Regions from separate parts of the Homo sapiens genome. Here regions 2 and 3 are each linked to region 1. Evidence: promoter capture Hi-C in 16 types of primary human blood cells and fetal thymus (Javierre and others, 2016). All regions are on one chromosome and are shown on one strand. Each heading gives the region's core, a stretch centred on a gene start or on the middle of the fragment in contact. The rest is flanking DNA. Distances are from core to core; before and after follow the strand shown. Region 1 holds the start of DNAJC10 (DnaJ heat shock protein family (Hsp40) member C10). Region 2 holds the start of FKBP7 (FKBP prolyl isomerase 7). Region 3 holds the start of ZC3H15 (zinc finger CCCH-type containing 15).

Region 1 (4,805 bases), core at 734-3,233:
TATTTCTCTACTGCTTGCAGTTTTGGACACTCCAAGTAAACTGTAAAAATCCTGATCTGTGCCCACTAAAATGGCCATATACACTATCAGAAAACAGAGAATGATCCTTTTCAAGTCTCTGATATAGTCATCTTTATTTAACCAGACTCCCATTCTCTTTCTTATGCAAGTTCTGATTTAAGTGAACATTAAGATTCACTGCTGGTTCCAGTTGATGTAATATGCAAATTTGAGAACTTCTGTCTACATTACTTCAAGGGTGAATCAAGCATCACAAATCTGTCCCCAAAAATATTAATCTAAGAAAGAAAAGCAGGCAGTTAAAATACATTTTGAACTAAACAATAATAGCACAATTTATTTATCACAGAACATGGTCAGCAATACAATCTCCATTAAATGGCAAATCAGTGTGAATGCCCCAGGTTCTATTTTTCACTCTTTCTACATCCATGTAGCTAGATTTGTGAAATCACTGAAGATAGCAGAAAAAAGGTCATGAGTGGTAGTAAGTAGCTTGCACACACACCCTCAGCAATTTATACACTGAGAAAAGACCTCTGACGAGCATCAGAACACAAAGGTGGCAATGAGCTACAGGTGCTTCCTCTTTCTACCCAGTTATAGCGTTGCCTGTAATACCTCTTCCTTTTAGCTACTTCTTTACCTCCTAAAGCTGTCTAATTTTCATTTTCAGCAGAATTCACTTGTAGGAAATGTCCTTGGGAGGGACTAGAAGGAAACATAGGGTTTTTTACTTCTCATATAACCCTACCAGAAATGACAGTGAAATATATTGTTATAATAGACAATCTACACAGCAGTCGATCTTCTTCCCGGAGTTTCCTCAGAAGGTGCTTATACTGAATTTAAGTAGAGGCCATTTTTTAAAAATAGTAGAAAAACAATTGTAAGTTACCAGTGTAATTTTATTGCAAAGTTCATGTTTGGTGTAAGTAGAAACAAAACACAAAAAGAGAAGGGAATCGGTTATTTAGACATACTCTCTGCAGGGCAAAAACAATCATTACTTCATCATATCACATTTCAACCACTATATTTTAGTTCCAAAGAGATCGTAATGCTTTGAAAAATCTAACGCTCCTCGCACCTCATTTCTGTTTTTCATTTAATCCTAAATGTATATTTAAAAATTTTTCTCTTTACCTGTGAATGGTCTTCAGCTCATTTCTAATACTTCCTTTTCATTCCACAAAAATATACCTTTGAAAAATATAATGATGTAGAGATTAACAAGTATCCAAACAAGAAAACAACCATCAGAAAAAGAGAGGGCATAGTCTCAATCAACACTTTGGGATAAGATGTTTCTCGCCCAGGGGTTGTTCTCAGCGTGGGTGTGGCCGAACTGCCCGTGGCCCGAGCTACCGGGCAGGTGGAAGCGCCAGGTAAATGCAAGGCGCAAGCTTTCGCATTGCCATCACTGCAGAGTGGGAGAGGGGAGAGGGGTAAAGATGAAGACACGGGGGAACAGGGCTGTTAAGTGTTGCTGGTGTCTGAAGTCTCAGGTCGGACTTAGGGAGAAAGTGTAAGTAACTGAGAGGGAATCGCTGGGCAGAGGAAGGGTGGTGTGAATAACAGGGAGGAGGAAGGTGGGGAGCGAGAACACAATATCCAGGTCTTAAGAGCGCACAGGAAGGGAGGTTCAGGCGCTCAGCCATTCCGCCCCTCCCTGACCGGAGGGCCCAGGCCACCACCGGCTCCAGCAAAGCCCTAGCCCCGGGCCCATGCCCACCTTGCCATCGCGGGGTCGCTTCCTGTAGCTACTCCCCCATCCTCAAACCCTGGCGGCGGACCCCGCCTGGCCGAGCCCAAGCACCGCGTGCAGGAGAGAAGCACACGCACTCTCCGACGGCCCAGCCGCGGCGCACGGGATTGGTGAGGTGCAGCCACACCGGCGACTACCAGCGCGCGGCCGGTACCGGTAGGTTCCTCACGCGCCGGTCTCCACGGCGAGCCGGGGCGGGGCCTGGCGCGGAGCATTGTGGGAAAGGCGTGGAGGACGCTGCCTGGGGAGACCCGCTGCGGGCCCAGCGGGCGCTGCGGCGGTGGGGTGGAGAGGGCGGTGTAGGTTTAGGTTGACGTGGCGGTGTGCGCGGGATCCGGCTCCGGCTCCGGCTCCAACCCGGAGCTGAGGGAACTGCCCTGGCCAAGCAGCCCGCGCCCCCTCACCAATGCGGCCGGCGCCTGCCGCGGGCGGGGAGGGTGGATGGCGAAGCCCGCCTCTTCCTGCTTCCGTTGCCAGGGTGACGGGGAAACCCAGAGGGTGGGTTTTGGGGTTGAGTTCCCTGAGAGTCTTTTAAAGGGAAGACGGAGCTTTGGAGGATTTGTCTGGGTGATGGGTGGGTGAGACCGAAAGGCGAAATTTGGCGGAGAAAGGAGAAGTTGCCTGAAGCGACACTGATTGCAGTATCAGGCTAGCGGACTGAAGAGGCAGTAGGAAACTTGAAGGAAATTAAAACATTTACAATTTTGTGTAAGCGTGTGTATCAACAAGCATTTGAGACTTCTACAATATTTTCTGGATTCTGAGTCATACAAGCTAGAAACTGGGGAGTTATCGTTGTTCTCTCTTACCTTGATCTCCTACTGCTATGGTACAGGAACTGCATTTTGTCCCACAGCAATATAACAATTGAAGTGGTTATATTTACTACATTTTCTATATTTAAAAGAGAAAACCGAGCCTAGAGGATACCTGCTTATAACATCAACCCTAACATGAAATAAGTTGTGATTGGTAACAGTTTCGGGGAGTAAATCAAGTGTCAGCTTCTAAAAACTTGGAAAACTACACAGGATCTATGGCTAAGCTAATACTTGGTAGGAAAGAAGAGGAAGTAGAATGAACAAAGGCAAACATTAGAAGCAGCCTGATGTAATAGTAGTTAATATGTCTCAGGAACTGGTCTAAGCACACATGTAGTAACTCATTTAGTCCTCCAAATAATCTTACAAGATAGTGGCTCCTATATCTATTTCCCATTTGAGGAAACTGAGGCAAATATTTGAGAGCTAGGATTCACATCTAAGCAACCTGGCTTCAGAGACTATGATGTTAAGCATTATGACACAGTGTGTAACCATTTTGTTACACACTGTAACAAAATCTTAAAGTAAATTGAAAAACAAACAGAAAACTGGAAGATGAAGCAGGGACCAGATCACAGACAGGTTTTTATACCAAGATGAAGACATAGATTTCTATCTCTTAGGTGATGAGGAAGCTTTTAAAAAAGAGACTGAGATTGTATTTTAGATCATCCTGGCAGCTATTGGAGAGAGGATGCAAAGCATACAAAACTGGAGAAAGAACAGGAGAATGTTAGACAAATAGGGTAAATGCTTTAAGAGGTGGTGGGCCGGGTGTGGTGGCTCACGCTTGTAATCGCAGAACTTTGAGGGGCTGAGGCGGGTGGATCACTTGAGGTCAAGAGGTCGAGACCAGCCTGGCCAACGTGGTGAAATCCCATCTCTACTAAAAATACAAAAATAAGCCGGGCATGGTGGCACACCCCTATAATCCCAGCTACTCGGGAGTCAAGAGAATCGCTTGAACCCGGGAGACAGAGGTTGCAGTGAGCCAAGATCACACCACTGCACACCAGCCTGGGTACAGAGCAAGACTCTGTCTTGGGGGAAAAAAAAAAGTAAGAGATGGTGATTGGTTGGATATGGGAGATAAAGGAAAGATTTAAGTTTAACTTCTGACTTCTTATGGCTGAATACTACCCACTGAATGAAGATCTGTTTAGGGAAAAGATAAAGGGTTCTGACTTGGACATATCTAGTTCAAGGTTCCTAGATCATATCTTAGTGAATATACCCTGCATAAAACTCATGGGTAATGTCTAGATTGGAGAAAAAATAGGAGAAAAATCATCAGATCACCCAAAGAAAGTGTGCAGAATAAGTAAAGTTGTGGACCAAGGATTAAAACCTTGGGGAATTCTAACATCAAGAATGAAAGCACACACGGAAAAAGAATCTAAGCTTCATGAAGGTGGATTTTTGTTCATTTTATTTACTGTTATGGCTCCAGCTGTTCTTACTATATGGTAGGTACTACATAAATATTTTTTGAATGAATAAACATTAATTTGAGAAATAGGCTGAAGAAGAAGAACCCATACAGGATGTAAAAAAGAGATGATCAGAGATGGGCAAAAGGAACTAAACATCAAGGAAGTTAGAGTGAGTCAGATAAGATACTGACTGCAACTTGTTAATTAGGTCTGGCAATTAGGAGGTTATAGGGACCTTAGTAAGCACAATTTTGGTGGATGGTAAGGCTGGAAGTTAGATTGTAGTAGACTAAAGATTGGCTAGGAGCTGAGGAAATGGAAATAGCAAGTACATATACTCTGTTCAGAGTTTGGGTGAAAAGAGGAAGGAAACTCATGTAACTAGAAGAGGATGTGGATTCCAAAGAGGAAATGCTTTAGGCTTGGAAAGGCTTGAGCAAGTTCATAAGCTGAGTAGAAGCCAAAAAAGAAAGAGGCCACAGATATGAGAGGGATGGAGTCAAGAGCACAGATGGATTGATAATCTTACACAGTTCATTTATTTATTTATTTAGTATTTTTTGAGATGGAGTTTTGTTCTTATTGTCCAGGCTGGAGTGCAATGGTGCGATCTTGGCTCATTGCAATCTCTGCTTCCCAGGTTCAAGCAATTCTCCTGTCTCAGCCTCCCAAGTAGTGGGGATTACAGGCACATGCCACCACACCTAAATAATTTTTGTATTTTTAGTAGAGACGAGGTTTCATCATATTGGTCAGGCT
Region 2 (4,805 bases), core at 344-2,843, 4.2 Mb after region 1:
GCAGCCCCGGTGCCTACCTAAGGAGGAGCTGCCCGCACACTCATCCCGCGGGCACTTAGTTCTCTCGGGTTTTCCTGGGTTTTCTTCAGAAATACATAATATCCTGTTTCTTCATGAAATCCTGTTTTTATTTTACATAAAATCCTGTTTTTTCTTCAAAAATACATAAAAGCCTTCCTATTTCTGTTTGCTTCGTATTTTCCTCATATTCAAGGGGTCTGAAATTATCTCCTAGGAAGGCAATGTGCAGCAGACGGGGTCCTCTGACAAGGAATGGCGAGGGCCCCCAAGGAACTGTCATCACGCCGATAACCTTGGATAGCCACAATTTTATTTAGAATATAAAACATGGAACTCGACTTCGGAATTTTAGTCTAGAAATGGGGACTTCCCCCTAGCTTTTATGATTTTTGAAACTCCTGCTTGGACGCAATTGTCATCTTGCATAATCGACAGTAATTTTCAGGTTTATGGAATTTTGCAAACTTTAAGCAAAGCACATCAATCAGGCTCAGTGCTGCGGCTTTTCTTCGCATCACCGAGGTAGAATAGCACCTCTACTCCCAGAACTTAATCCAGGCGAATGCAGAAGGCCTTTGCTGGTTTTCTGGTTTGGGTAGTCTTTGGGTATTCACTTGGAAACAAGGCGAATTGATGGATGGATAGAGTGATGGATGGATATGTAATAAATATAATATAGTTCAATGACAGGATCCAGATGGTGGGTGTAGGAGAGTTTACTGTAGAATTCAACTTTCTGTGTATTTTAAAGGTTTTCATACTAAAATTGGTGGTGAAGTGGTGTTGTCACACAGATTTGACCAAATCCCTGCTGCGTATTAGCTGTGAGATTGGGACAACATGCCCAATACTCAAGTTTTCTTGACTGATGTGGACAATTACGTATCCCATGGGATGGTACAAAAAAGTCAAAAGAACATTCCCCGCACTACCAGAGGCCCTCGAATCAAGGGCGGCCCCGAGTGGCGGGGAAAAGAAATGCAAGCCAGCGGAGGATGCTGAATTGTGGAGGTCGGCTCTCGGAAACGCCTGCAGCCAGGCAGAGGAGTTGCGGTACCGCAGTTTCGTTGCATCGGGCTGGCCTTCAGGTTGTGCGACTCAGCCTGGAACCTCTGAATGCAAGATTCCGACCTGAGAATGCGCTTCAAGGACACCTCCGAAGCACCCAGAAAGCCACCGCCAGCCTATTTTTTACGCTCCTTTTCCAGCATGCCTCTCCCTCCCCCCAGTATCTATCTGCTCGTTCCCTAGGGGTCTTAGAAGCCTTTTGCTTCCAGAAATGACAACCATATTCCCTGACTCTACGACATCCCAGGCTGTTTATTTCGTCTTATGCCAGTTTCATTTTAGAAAATGCGAATGTTGTCACCGAACCCTGAGGAAACCTGCTGTAAAATACGCGGGTTTAGCGAGAAGAAGCGGAGCGAGTGTGCGTTGCGATCTTAAAGACTGAGGACAGCCAGCCCGAGGGCCTAGAAACAGCGTTAACCGCGCTGAGCCCGCTGCGGGAGGCGGAGGGGTTGGGGCCATGAGAGGGCGGGGCCGCATCTATGGCCCCGCCCCGGCCCTTTGTGACGCAGGACAACGCCTGCCACGCGTCGGAACTCGGCCGCGGGACATCCACGGGGCGCGAGTGACACGCGGGAGGGAGAGCAGTGTTCTGCTGGAGCCGATGCCAAAAACCATGCATTTCTTATTCAGATTCATTGTTTTCTTTTATCTGTGGGGCCTTTTTACTGCTCAGAGACAAAAGAAAGAGGAGAGCACCGAAGAAGTGAAAATAGAAGTTTTGCATCGTCCAGAAAACTGCTCTAAGACAAGCAAGAAGGGAGACCTACTAAATGCCCATTATGACGGCTACCTGGCTAAAGACGGCTCGAAATTCTACTGCAGGTAGGAAATGCTGCGAGCTGCCCGTGCGTCCAGTTGCACAAAATCTTGCCTGCCTCCACCAAGCGGAAGCCTCATTGGTTGGTTGGTTGGGGTTTTATTTTTTAACGGTAAAAGTTGAGCCCTTTATTCATTAAAAAAAATCACATTATATGGCAGTGTTTCTCTAATAAACTGAATATTTTTATTTAAAGTATTGAAAATGTTGTGGCAATAAATTATCAAAAATACGATACATCCACACACACATCAACCACCACCATTACCCTTGGGACCTCCAGAATTAAATCAAGGTTCTGCCTATAAGGATGTTCACATTTTTCCCTTGCCAGAAGTATTGAGTCTTTACGGAGGAATACATGGAATAAAGAGATTTAATTCTGGCCTTCAGAAGCACGATTTTTATAGGTTGTGGCCACTTTCTATCAAGAAAAACAGTTACTTCCCTGGTGACTTCTGGTGGGCCCTGCTCCCTCATTCCACCTGGTGCCTACTCTGATTTAATTGATGGCTTATTACTCAGAGGGAGAATCTTTTCTTTACCCTGTAAAGATAGGACTGGGAAAAACAGTTCCATCCATTTAGAATAAAATAGAGAAATTTAATAAGAATTTATACAATTTTATAATTTAATAAGAATTTAATAAATTATATCATTAGAATTTAATAAGAAAATATACCATTTTAAATTACTATTAAAATGACTTTTTGAGGCTAAAACTGCCCTATCATTTTTTTACAACAAACCCAGGGAGTTAAATGAGTTCTTTGTACAAGCCATGCACCTAGTTAGGGGCTGGAGACCCATTAAAAAGTTAACTGTTGAATAGTTTTTGTAAAGATAACAATTTTAAAAAATGAGATGGCTGTTAATGATTAACTTTGGGCAAATCATACTTCTTTCTGGTGATTATAGGGAAGTTTGAGTCAAACACCCCATTAAGGGTTTTAGAAAGAGTGATTATATGGGAATGATGGTTAGAGAGGACTCCAATTTTAAATGCCCAGCTGTATTTTCAAGTTTGATTTCTTGAAATCAGTTTACTTAAGTATTGCTTTTTGTTATAGCCGGACACAAAATGAAGGCCACCCCAAATGGTTTGTTCTTGGTGTTGGGCAAGTCATAAAAGGCCTAGACATTGCTATGACAGATATGTGCCCTGGAGAAAAGCGAAAAGTAGTTATACCCCCTTCATTTGCATACGGAAAGGAAGGCTATGGTAAGATGTTTAATTTTAATTTCTTGTTTTAGTTATATTTAAAAAATGATTAATAGATTTCTGGGTATATAGGTCTGAAAGAATTGAAAGCACAGTCTCAAAGAAATATTTGTACAGCCATGCTCATAGCAGCCATGTACAATAGACAAGAGATGGAAGCAAGCCACATGTCCATACATAGAGAAATGGATAAACAAAATGAATACATGCATATATGGAAGCCAGGCACAGTGGCTCATGCCTGTAATCCCAACACTTTGGGAGGCCAAGGTGGTAGAATCACTTGAGGCCAGGACCAGCCTGAGCAACAGCAAGACCCTGCTCTACAAAAAAAAAAAAAAAAAAAATGAAATGGAATATTATTCAGCCTTAAAAAGGAAGAAAATTCTGAGACATGCACCAACATGTATCAGCCTTGAGGACATTATGCTAAATGAAATAAACCAGTCACAAAAAGACAAATACTGTATAATTCCATTTATGTGAGGTACCTGGAGTAGTCAAATTAATAGAGACAAAGTAGAAGGGTGATTGCCAGAGGCTGAAGTGAGAGGGAAAAGGGGAATTGTTGACCAATGGGTATAGAGTTTCATTTTTGCCAGATGAAGAGTTCTGGAGATTGGTTGCATGGTAGTGTAAGCGTACTTTACTGAACAACACACTTGAAAATTGTTATGATGGTAAATTTTATGTTATGTGTATTTTACCACAATTAAAAACAAAAAAGTGAAATAAAAAATGATAGATGAAATAAAGAGAACAGTAAAGCCCAATGACCTTAAGCTCTATCTAGTTCAGTCCAGTCCCTTCTTTTTGCTTATAAGGATAATATGACATTGTTTGAATATAGATCTCTGGCCAGAGTTCTTTCTTCTACATTGTGGCAACACTCATGATGATTATATATATTCTATAAGCTCTACCTTAAGCATTTTTATTTGTTTTCAGCATATGTTATTATTACATAAATATTTATAACACAGATCTTTGGTAAGCAGTACCAAAGTTAAATTCATAAAACTCAGAAACTGGAACATGTAGGTTTAGAGTAAAAGGACAGGACGGGCACATTGTAAAAGGAACAGCTGAGATATAATGGGCTGTCAGTCATTATTACCCCAATACAGGACAAGCCTTCAAATGTGCAAGAAATGATCTTATTCTTTCAATATCTTGTCATTTTAAAAATCCTACAGCAAAAAGATCTGAAAACCTAGGTAAAGCAAATAAGCGGGAAAAATGTTTGTAACATGTATGAAGACTTGCTAACCAATAATGAAAATGACATATCCCTAGAAATGGGCCAAATTCATAAATAAGCACCCACTAACAAAAAACTACAAATGGCCTTTAAGTCTATGAGAATACTTAATTTTATTCATAAAGAGAAATTAAAAATGAGACATCATATTTCACTCATCAGATTAGCAAACACAAAACAACTTGGCAAAAGCATGGAAAAACCAGCATTATTGCTGGGAATGGAAATCATTCAACTTCTCTATCAACTGTTATCAAAAGTGAAAATGCAGGCCCGGGTGTGGTGGCTCATGCCTGTAATTCCAGCACTTTGGGAGGCTGAAGTGGGCAGATCACTTCAGGTCAGGAGTTCGAGACCAGTCTGGCCAATATGGTGAAACCCCGTCTCCACTAAAAATACAAAAATTAGCTGGG
Region 3 (4,805 bases), core at 609-3,108, 3.8 Mb before region 1:
CACCACTTTGTTGTTGTTAATATTTTTAGTTAAAAAGTGCAGTTGTCTTATTTTGCATTTTTCTTTGGAGATACCTTCATTATTGAAACTAAAATTGCTTTCTCTTTAGCTAAAAAATAATTTCGTCACAAGATGACTAGAATCATAACATATGCATCATTTTAAAAGTTGATGGATACTATAAACAACTTTCACACATAATTCCTTAAAATAAGAATACTAGTCCTACTAATTAAAAATAAAACAATTAGATATAGAGAAAGCTCTACAATGCATGAAGTATAATTTAAATTGTCTAAATTATTACATAACATTTAATTTCAATGGGAGTTTTACTTCGTATCAGGGTCCAATCTCGAGGAAAACGACATCCCTAAAATGTCCTTGGTTTTCATAAAAGTGAATGCCATCCGATCAGCAACCCCTGAAATTTACCTAAGTGCCACGAATCCAGATTGTTCAAATAAGGTAATAGAAAACACAGATGTGAAGGTAATATTTTGTTTTTAAGTGTCTGGCTATAGTACTTCATGACAGTTTTAAACTGTACAAATTGGCAATAAGAATACCAGTTCTCCTCCAAAGTTGGAACCTGGCCAAGTATAGCAAAATTCTTAAGCATTTTCTTAAATCCAATGAGCAGACTTTACACCTTATGCGGTAAAATGGTCATGGCTTTTTCTAATTATATCCAAAGTACAAGAGGTCCTATTTAATTATGAGGAGGATTAATAGCAGAAATCGAGGGAAGAAATACCTCGTTGGGGTCTGTATGGTATGTTTACGTAATGTCAAATATGGTTCATCTTTTAAGGAAACTCAATTCAGTTGTTGGAAAACAAGTGCACAACATGTAAGAACGTCAATAGCGTTCCTTGGCCATTAAAGGGCTACAGGCTCAATGTGTTAAACGAATATATATACACACACATATATACACATATACACACACATAGATGTATACATATATACACGCGCACACACACACATATATCTCAAACTGGGTTACGGGACTTCACACAATTAGTGACACTGAAACCTAATCTCTTTTAAGGCGTTATCCTATTTAATCCACTTCAGAATGTAAGTACCAAGCTCTGCGTTCAAGACCCTGGGTTGTGACGGAAAGTCCTTCCATTCTTTATGGGACTTTAAACATTTCAGAGGTGGATCGAAAAAGCCACCAAGTCGTAATTTGTTGGTTCAAAAGAACTAACAGTACCATCCCTGGGTGACGGGTAAAGAAATAACGAACACAAAGACTCGTCATGAGTCGGTCTTCCAGAAAGACGCTGGCCCGAGACCGTTCAGCGTATTTCTTCACACATAACCTTGGAAAATCTCCTCAATTCTGAGAGGACTAGCGAAGGATAAAACCCTGTGCCAGTCCCGAGGGGTCATTTCGCACCCGGGTGCATGGGTGGGTGAACACGGGCGTGTGGGCGGAGAGGCAAAGCCCAGGTGCGGGGGCGCCAGCAGCGTCACTATAGTAATGAGAGAGCTAGCGTCATCAGGGGCTGGAGAAGGGGCAGTGGGCCACACAGGCCTAAGGGAGGAACACGTGGCCCGAGGAAGCGAGCCGGCTCCCAGGGAAGCCCGGAGCGGGGAAGTGGCTTTCCGGAGGGCTCGCGGCGTGAGTGGGGGAGGGGTGGGTACTCACTTCGATAATCTTCTCCTTCTTTTTTTGCTCCGCCTTTTTGCTGCCCCCGGCCTGAGCCTGTTTCTTGGGGGGCATTGCGGAGACAGATGGCACCGGCCAGACTTACGCGCAGCTGAATACCGTCAGGGGTTCTGGCCCTGCGGCAGGACGAGGAGGAAGACCGGGGCCTCACTCGCCGCACCGCACGGAAAGCGAGTCGCTCATTGGCCCCGCAAACGCGGCCTTTGCGACAGGTCGATGTCGCAGAGCATAGTGGGTAGCGAGGAGCGGCTCCCGGAAGCGGAGCTGCGCGTGCGCGCCCACTGCGTCCCACTAGGAGGGGGCAGGGACGGGACGTGGGAAAATGACTACGCGTCACTCGTGATGTCGCGCATCCGATAGGCCCTTTTCAGATGGCAAAAGGCCTGAGGGTGAATCTGGGCGAGCTGGTTGAGTCCATGCGTTTGTGCTTCCTCTCAGTCCACTTTCGCTTACGATGGGGCGACTCTTGTCCATCGTCACCTCACCGGGAAACTTTTCCTGCCGGGCCAGTTAATGGTCCCCTGTACCATCCCCATCCTGAGTGACTACTAAGCAGCCGCAGCGACTCGGGGTTGCTCCGTGACCACGTTACTCAGTTAACCTTCTTGTTCCCTGGAGAGGCGGAGCTGAATGGCCCGTGAGTGTCGCGTGCTTCAGATTCCTGCGAAGGATTATTTAAAAAATGGAAAAAGTTAACTTTCATTTGCAGGGTCCCTTTCATTTGAAGAGCATCTGAGATGGCGTCCCAGATAAGGAGGCACTTGAACTCCTTAGAAGTACTGTATTAAGTTATTTTGAGACTTTAGGAGAGTGCCTAGGTGATTCCTAAAAATTCCTTTATAACGTGAAAGTAACCAAACTTAGTTAGAACTTAGTTTAAGTGCTTGGTAGCTCCAGAAATTCCTTGGCACATTACACACACTATTTCATTTAGTTATCACAACGACACTTAGGTGGGAGTTGTTACTGTTTTCGTTTTATAGATGAAGCAGAGAAAGGAAGAAAGATGCCCAAAGTTATATTAAGGACAGAGCCAGCAATTGTAATCTTGGCAGTCCGGCTTCAGCCTATATGCCTATTACCTAACATTACAAACTTAGATCCTGTTTGAAAAGGTACTTGAATGATGAATGGGACCCATTGATATTTGTACAAACGAAAATACTATTTTTTAAAAATGTACAATGCTTAGCTGTTATTTTTTAAAATGATTATTGTTTAAACTATTTCTGTTAAGAAGCATTGTGGAACCAAGAATCATCTTTATAGATAAAAGTTTTTTTATCTTTTTCATTAATTTGAATAGGGAGAAAACGATAAGCCCCCCTACTTAGTCAAATTGATTATTTGCTTAGTAATTTTCTACGTAAGATAATGTCAAGGAACCCCAAGTATGTTTTGTGTGTGTATGTGTGTGTGTAGAAGAAATGTGATAGCTACTAAAAAGAATTGTGTCGAGAATGGCAGGTGTATGTTGACACACTTTTTTTCATTTGGGCTCATATTGGCAGGTTAATGGGCTCCCCCCCTTTTACATATTTTCATCTTTATTTTTTGTAATTGTCATAGTTCTTGTCAGAGGATGGAGGGATGCAGCCAGCCCCCTCTTTACTCAGTATTATTATCCATTTGATTATTTGGGGATCGTCTCCTTTGAGACTTTGTTTGCATATGGAATGTAGTTGTCTTAACTTCCTACTTTTAGTGCCCCAAAGATGCCCTTTGGGCCTTTGATTTTGAGTAATTTTACTGATTATTATTATGAGGCAAATGAATTATAAGTAACAAATATGGGGAAGTTACAAAGAATCTAGAGTCTCATAATGTTATGATAATGGCTCCAGTTTCATGGTTCATAACTTCTTCTGTCTCCTGACCTTTGCTTTCGGTTTTTTCCTCTGAAGTGTAGCCCAGGTAGAGAACAAAGATCCTTTCTTGCCTCAAGTGGAAAATACACATTTCTGAATATAGTACATGCTCTTATAGCACTCTCCCTCGTACACTATTTCTTCATACATTTTAGAAATAAGGAAGTCCAACTCATTGAATTCACTACTTTTTGAAATAAGGTACATGGTTTTTCCTGGTCTCAAATAGCAAATGGTAGCAGGGCTGGGACTTTTATGTCTTCTACTGCTATTTTTATTGACCTTACAATTCAAACGAAACTTTCACAAAACAGTGCTTAGAAGGCATAGTCCAAGGGTTACAATTCATATACCCAAGAAAGCAGGGCTATAAACTTGAGCGTCAGGATGAGTGAAATACATTAGGAAGTTGTGGGAACAGTGTTAAACCTGAGGTAAATGCCCACCGTAAAAGAACTAAAAGAAAAACTGTCAAACCTGACTGCTTCGATTTGGTAGACAGGCTGTGAATTTACTGCCTTGGATATAGCCATTTGGATAACTTTACATTTATTGGAATGTATCAGATGTAATAGATTAAGGCAGTAGATTTTGTACTGAATAGAAATTATTGTTTGCTATCCAGCATTCTAATGTCCTTCTGTATAGGAAGGAAGCCCTATGTCTCAGGCTTTTAATCTCAAGAAAACAAGACAAAGACTCAAAGTGTAGGAATTTTTCAGGGCATTAGAGTGCATGTATGGTATTACCAGTCCAGTGGCGGCAGGCCAGTGTGGCAAGATCCATACAAGTCCTTACTTCATTCTTTGCTATTATTTCTTGCTTCTTTTATTTCCCAAGCCTGATTTTCCAGGCTTCCTATAGATTCTGTGAACAATATTTCCATAAACATATTTGAAGACATAGCTAGAAGGTGGCCATCTGCAAGCCAAGAGAGAAGCCTTGGAAGAAACCAAACATGCTGACACCTTGATCTCAGCCTACTAGCACCCAAAACTATGAGAAAATAAATTTCTGTTTTTTAAGCCACCCAGTCTGTGGTACTTTGTTATTGCAGCCCTAGTAAACTAAGACAGACTCTGATTGATAATAGACCAAACTGTGCTATGGGGTGGTGGGCAGAGACAAGACTACTAGTTTATCTAAGTAAATTTTTGTCATAAAGATAGGACTCATTTGGCCATATAAATTGCTGATCTGTTTTATGGGTTAAGGCAGTACATATTAGGAAGTATTTTGATTTAAATAGTGAATGC

The links. Contacts are between HindIII fragments. The CHiCAGO score rates a contact against its expected background, and 5 or more counts as called.
Region 2: a contact is called between the fragment with the promoter of FKBP7 here and the fragment with the promoter of DNAJC10 in region 1, in 3 of 17 cell types (total B cells, naive B cells and M0 macrophages). The highest score is 9.8, in total B cells.
Region 3: the fragment with the promoter of ZC3H15 here is called in contact with the fragment with the promoter of DNAJC10 in region 1 in 6 of 17 cell types (non-activated CD4 T cells, activated CD4 T cells, total B cells and 3 more); the score reaches 16.7 in non-activated CD4 T cells.

The regions. Positions count from the first base shown.
Region 1 is chr2:182,713,435-182,718,239 of GRCh38, reverse strand. It overlaps DNAJC10 (DnaJ heat shock protein family (Hsp40) member C10), which reads right to left and starts at 1,983. Exons shown (of 24, transcript NM_018981.4): 1 at 1,757-1,983; 2 at 1,168-1,224; 3 at 1-299. The coding sequence starts at 153. It overlaps LOC101929976 (a long non-coding RNA gene), which reads left to right and starts at 3,630. Exons shown (of 7, transcript XR_427200.3): 1 at 3,630-4,079. It also overlaps a transcript of PDE1A not described here. RefSeq lists a silencer at 1,591-1,750 and enhancers at 1,312-1,916, 2,261-2,330, 2,351-2,500. The HindIII fragment of the contact is 1,821 bases long and covers 1,430-3,250 here.
Region 2 is chr2:178,475,388-178,480,192 of GRCh38, reverse strand. It overlaps FKBP7 (FKBP prolyl isomerase 7), which reads left to right and starts at 1,593. Exons shown (of 4, transcript NM_181342.3): 1 at 1,593-1,914; 2 at 2,980-3,131. The coding sequence starts at 1,694. The HindIII fragment of the contact is 11,907 bases long and covers 1-4,805 here.
Region 3 is chr2:186,483,313-186,488,117 of GRCh38, reverse strand. ZC3H15 (zinc finger CCCH-type containing 15) reads right to left here and starts at 1,858. Exons shown (of 10, transcript NM_018471.3): 1 at 1,661-1,858. The coding sequence starts at 1,735. LOC105373785 (a long non-coding RNA gene) reads left to right here and starts at 2,118. Exons shown (of 2, transcript XR_001739147.3): 1 at 2,118-2,318. RefSeq lists an enhancer at 1,749-2,228. The HindIII fragment of the contact is 12,604 bases long and covers 1-4,805 here.